Linked DNA regions of Homo sapiens: region 1 is linked to region 2. Evidence: promoter capture Hi-C in human tissues and cell types (Jung and others, 2019). All regions are on one chromosome and are shown on one strand. Each heading gives the region's core, a stretch centred on a gene start or on the middle of the fragment in contact. The rest is flanking DNA. Distances are from core to core; before and after follow the strand shown. Region 1 overlaps SPTAN1 (spectrin alpha, non-erythrocytic 1). Region 2 holds the start of TRUB2 (TruB pseudouridine synthase family member 2).

Region 1 (2,714 bases), core at 1-2,500, 300 kb after region 2:
GGAGGAGGCTGCCGCAGTGATCTGCGGTCTGAAGGAGAGCAGGAAAGGGGGCATGTGTGACTGAGTCTCAGCAGTGTCCAGGTGGACAGTTTGGCTTGGGCATCTGGGGGACATGCTGGTGCCATCTGAGCCTAGGAAGAGCAAGTTCCAGTCCTGTGGAGTCACCACAAATTGGCTTGTCACTCCTTGTTCAGGAAACTTTTGACGCTGGGCTGCAGGCCTTCCAGCAGGAAGGCATTGCCAACATCACTGCCCTCAAAGATCAGCTTCTCGCCGCCAAACACGTTCAGTCCAAGGCCATCGAGGCCCGGCACGCCTCCCTCATGAAGAGGTGGAGCCAGCTTCTGGCCAACTCAGCCGCCCGCAAGAAGAAGCTTCTGGAGGCTCAGAGTCACTTCCGCAAGGTGAGGATGGGGCCACGTGAAGCTTAGCTGGCCCACAGCTCAAGGAAGGACGCCCACCTTCTGTCTGCCCAGCTCTGCCACTCCCCCTTGAGGAAGCTGTGAGCTCAGTGCAGAGCTTTCAAACATGGGTGTGGCTGGCATCAATTAAAACCAGGGCAAATGAGAGGGCCCTGTGAGATCGCCATTCAGAAGCACGCAGGACAGACTAGAGACAAGGGCAAAGGGTAGGAAGGGGAAAAAAGGCTGGTGAAGACTTGAAGGGGGAGCAGGAGACAGGAGCAGAGGGGAGCTAAGCTCCCAGCAGGCTGTGTGCGCCTCTGATTCCCAGGAACCACCCCGCACCCCACCTCCTGCACTGCGTCGGCACGTCCAGCCCTGGCGACTCCGCCAACTCAGTCTCTTCTGCTTCCAGGTGGAGGACCTCTTCCTGACCTTCGCCAAAAAGGCTTCTGCCTTCAACAGCTGGTTTGAAAATGCAGAGGAGGACTTAACAGACCCCGTGCGCTGCAACTCCTTGGAAGAAATCAAAGCTTTGCGCGAGGCCCACGACGCCTTCCGCTCCTCCCTCAGCTCTGCCCAGGCTGACTTCAACCAGCTGGCCGAGCTGGACCGCCAGATCAAGAGCTTCCGCGTAGCCTCCAACCCCTACACCTGGTTTACCATGGAGGCCCTGGAGGAGACCTGGAGGAACCTACAGAAAATCATCAAGGTACACCTCCCGCTGCCCTCAGGAGCTGCTCGGCCTCCCAGAGCCCTCTCTGGGCCCTGCTCAGAGCCCACACTTAACTGAGTCACGACAAGACGAGCAGGATGGAGGAGCATGGTTTCATCAGAAGTTTCATTTCTTTTTGTGTTCTTGAGGCAGGGTCTCTGTCACCCAGGCTTCAGTGCAGTGGTGCTACCATGGCTCCCTGTAGCCTCAACCTCCCAGGCTCAGGTGATCCTCTTGCCTGAGCCTCTTGAATAACTGGGACTACAAGCACGTGCCACCACGCCTGGCTAATTATTTTAATTTTTGTAGACAGGGTGTTGCTATGTTGCCCAGGCTGGTCTTCAACTCCTGGCCTCAAGCAGTCCTCCTGCCCAGGCCTCCCAAAGTGCTGGGATTACAGGTGTGAGCCACTGTACCCAGCCAGAAGTTTCCATTTCTGACAGTCCAGCAACTCCCTGCTTGACTGACCAGTCGCTTCCCTCCAGGTCCGCCTCTTCCTTGAAGCCCCTGGGGGGTGGGAACAGAGAAAGAACTACCAAGTGCTCTGAGCCGGCCTCATGTCTCCCAGCCTCCTCCTCTCATCTTTGGGGAGGTTCCTTGTGGGGAGGCCACCACCACCCTGAGCCCATCTGTGAAGGAGGGGCTGGTGTCACTGCCACAGCAGCGCACAGCATCTGCCCCCCTTTGGCCCTCAGGAGAGGGAGCTGGAGCTGCAGAAGGAACAGCGGCGGCAGGAGGAGAACGACAAGCTGCGCCAGGAGTTTGCCCAGCACGCCAACGCCTTCCACCAGTGGATCCAAGAGACCAGGTGCCAGCCCGCTGGGGCCGGGGAGCAGCAGCATGTCCCTGCTGTACTTAAGCCCTGGGGAGCTTCCAGCCCCAAGGAGGTGGTGGTGCTTTGTGTAAAACCAGAGGCAGCCTGGGAATAAAGCTGGGCTGGCAACGCCTGGTCGGGCTCTGGAGCCGGGAGTGGGGGCATAGGTGGAGCAGCCTCTCAGTGCTGCATGTCCCAGACATCAAGTTGTTAGAGATCCCGGATTGAGTGGGACCATGCAGGGCGCGTGGTCAGCCCCAGCCATGACTTGGTGACAGACGATGCAGGGTCTGTGCGTTGGGTACTGATGTTCTTGCTTTTGTTTTCCTTTCTTTCTTGTGTCTTCTCTCTGTCCCCCCGATTGCTGCTGTTGTCCGGACACCACCTTGTCTCCCGGCTGCTTGGATCTGCTCTCCACAGGACATACCTCCTCGATGGGTTAATATTGTTTTCTTCCTTCTCTGGGCTTGTCATGTGGGGGTCTCGTGCGCTTGCCCCTCGTGGCCTGGCTTGTGGAGGATCCCGGGATGGGCCTTCCTGCCCAGGGCGGGCTGCACTTCCCCTCCCACCCTTCTCGTCACCTGATGAGGAGTGTGTGCCTTGCCCCATAGCCCATGGTCCCTGGTCCCCGATAGAGCCTTCAAGCCAGGGGGAGCCGTCCTTGCCTCACTGGGCGATTCCAAGGGCTCACTTTGGGTAGGGAAGGTGATGAAGCACGAAGGCCAGAGCTGGAGTCCAGAGGCCCTAAGAACCCCCGTGCCTGTCCAGCCACCGGGCTCTGTTG
Region 2 (2,700 bases), core at 175-2,674:
ATGATCCACCCTCCTCGGCCTCTCAAAATGCTGGGATTACAGGCGTGAGCCACCACGCCTAGCTAGATTACTTATAATGCCTAATATAATGCCTATGCATCACCTTGAGTGGATTCAACACAGTACTAGGTGCACAGCAAATTCAAGTTTTGCTTTTTGGAACTTTGTGTTTTTCTTCCCAAATACTGCCAATCTGAAGCTGGATCATGGGATGTGGAACTCATGGACTCAGAGGCAACTGTACTTAGTGACACGTGAAAATTACCTGAAGTTCAAATATGAATATTCATAAAGTTCTATTGGAATACAGCTAGGCTCATTCCTTTAGATACTGTCTATAGCTGTTTGGCACTACATTGGCAGAGTTGAGCAGTTCCAACGGAAATCACATGGCCTGAAAACTAAAACATTCAGTATCTGGCCCTTTCCAAGGAAATCTGCCAATTCCTGGTCTAATACCTCACTCCTCTGTGGACCTTCAAGGGCCTGGCACAGGAATCTGAGCACTGGGACACTGACTCGGCTCAGGGATTTCCTGGGAAGTGACACACAGGATCCTGCTTAAATCTGCCTTACCCAGTGGATGGTTGATGAAAGAGGGTACGCTGGTGGCTGTGAGGGTCAGCTCCTTCTCTTCGCTGCCTTCCATGGGGCCCAGCAAGAAGCGAACACGCTGTTTAGGAGCGGGAGGCTTCCTGGCATTGAGACCTGAACACACAGAGATAATATATACACACATACATACAAATATATGTACATATAAAATATTTTTTAAGAGACAGGGCCTCGTTCTGTAGCCCAGGCTGAAGTGCAATGGCGCCATCATAGCTCACTGTAACGTCAAACTCTTGGGCTCAAGCGATCCTCCTGCCTCAGCCTCCAGAGTAGCTGGGATTACAGGCGTGCACCACGATGCTGACCAGGAATATCTTGTTCTGTCCAAACACTTGGGGGATTAGACAACAGGGAAGTATGATGTAGAAGACAAAGCAGAAGCCCATGGTGCAGAGGGCAGTATAGCAGTAGTTAAGAAACAGGCGGATTCAAACAGACTCTACAACGTAGTAACCGTGTGACAAGGAACAATACTGAGTCAGTTTCCCCCTCGGAAAACAGAGGAAAGTGAGGAGTAAGAAAGCACAGAGAACAGGCGTTTGGGAAAGCGCTCTGCCCAGGTGAATAGGTCACGTGATTTTGTTTTGGGGTAAGGACCAGAAGCGGAGATGGACTTCCAAGAGAACGAGAGCGGGAACGTGGGTCTGGTTCGAGGCACTCACCCTTCAGAAGTTGTAGCTCCACTGTATCCCGCAGGTGCTTCCATTTTAGCCCCGGGGGCTTATAGACCGCGAAAAGCCCATGCAGCCGCGACAAGCCAGCAGACCCCATACTTGAAGATCACAGCACCCGCTGGACCTGGACGGAAGTACCGCCAGGCCCCGCCCCCAAATGTGGTCCTTTCCACGGGCGCCGCCATGTTCCACAGCCGGAAGAGGTTCGCATTTTATAGTCTTCGGGGAAAACCGGCTGTGGAGAAGGAAATAGGGCCCGGCGCTGAGTGAGCGTGGTTGCGTGTCCTTTGCAGACACTTTCTGGGGCGAGGTGACATGGCGAGAGTCTTGGATCGGTGGACGTAGACGGTAGACAGTTCGCGTGCGTTTCCTTCGCCTACTTGGCCTACATGCCTTCTGCCCGTGAAGCGATGTTTCCCCTCGAAAGGCCGTAGGCTACGCCGTCAGAATCGGTTTTTCAGTGAGTTTTGACCCCTCCGACGCTCCGTCGCCTGACAGAATCGCGGCGTTCTTCGTACCCGCCCATCCTCCGCGGACGCCCGCTGCCATGGCGACTCTGCTGCGCCCTGTCCTCCGTCGGCTCTGCGGGCTCCCGGGCCTACAGCGGCCTGCGGCAGGCAAGTGGCGCCGGGTTCTGGGCGCAGGCGGGAAGGAGCCTGAGGGCGCCCGGCTCCTCTGACCTCGGCCTTTTTCTTGCCCCGCAGAAATGCCCCTCCGGGCTAGGAGCGACGGCGCCGGCCCGCTATACTCGCACCACCTCCCCACCTCCCCGCTGCAGAAAGGGCTGTTGGCCGCCGGCTCCGCGGCGATGGCGCTCTATAACCCCTACCGCCACGGTAAGGCCGCCCGCGCCTCGCCCCCGTGGGGGCGGCTTGGAGCCGTTTCCTGTGGGTAACTGGAACATAGCCTAGGTCGGGGTACCCAAACCTGGTTGCAGCTCGTAACCACTCGGAACGTTTATGAAAATGCAGATTCCTGGATCCCACCTAAACGCACTGAATCTGAATCTGAATCTGCAGTGGAGGGAGAAATGGGCGTGAAACCGAAAGTCTGTCTTTAAACTACTTGGGAGAATCTGTCATGCAGCCATATTGAGAACATCTAGACTAAATAGATGATTCATAAGTACCGATCAGTTTATAATATCCTACTAGAAAGTCAACTCCGAGGTCGAGGACCATGTCTGCCTCGTTCCACTGCATCTGCAGCCTTCTGGATAGTGCCTGGCACATAGTAAATGCTCAATAAATGTTTGCTGGATGTGTGACTAGAACATTCTAGGGTTCTACAGTGTTTTTCTTATGCCTCCTAGATTTTTGAGTTCTGGGAAGTACTGTTATTCCTACTAACAAAAACAGGCTAGGCGCTATTATAGTGGCTCACGCCTATAATCCCTATCGGGGGGCCGAAG

The links. Contacts are between HindIII fragments. The study calls those that stand out against the background at their distance.
Region 1: a contact is called between a fragment that was not itself captured here and the fragment with the promoter of TRUB2 in region 2, in 1 of the 25 tissues and cell types used here (heart right ventricle).

The regions. Positions count from the first base shown.
Region 1 is chr9:128,625,575-128,628,288 of GRCh38, forward strand. It overlaps SPTAN1 (spectrin alpha, non-erythrocytic 1), which reads left to right. Exons shown (of 57, transcript NM_001130438.3): 48 at 195-404; 49 at 817-1,113; 50 at 1,812-1,924; 51 at 2,351-2,368. Among named protein-coding and RNA genes, the nearest start is that of DYNC2I2, 30 kb to the right of the region's middle. RefSeq lists an enhancer at 1,448-2,093. The HindIII fragment of the contact is 6,522 bases long and covers 1-2,714 here.
Region 2 is chr9:128,321,023-128,323,722 of GRCh38, forward strand. It overlaps TRUB2 (TruB pseudouridine synthase family member 2), which reads right to left and starts at 1,425. Exons shown (of 8, transcript NM_015679.3): 1 at 1,278-1,425; 2 at 577-708. The coding sequence starts at 1,386. COQ4 (coenzyme Q4) reads left to right here and starts at 1,817. Exons shown (of 7, transcript NM_016035.5): 1 at 1,817-1,906; 2 at 1,994-2,125. The coding sequence starts at 1,837. RefSeq lists an enhancer at 1,125-1,664 and a silencer at 2,045-2,104. The HindIII fragment of the contact is 10,812 bases long and covers 1-2,700 here.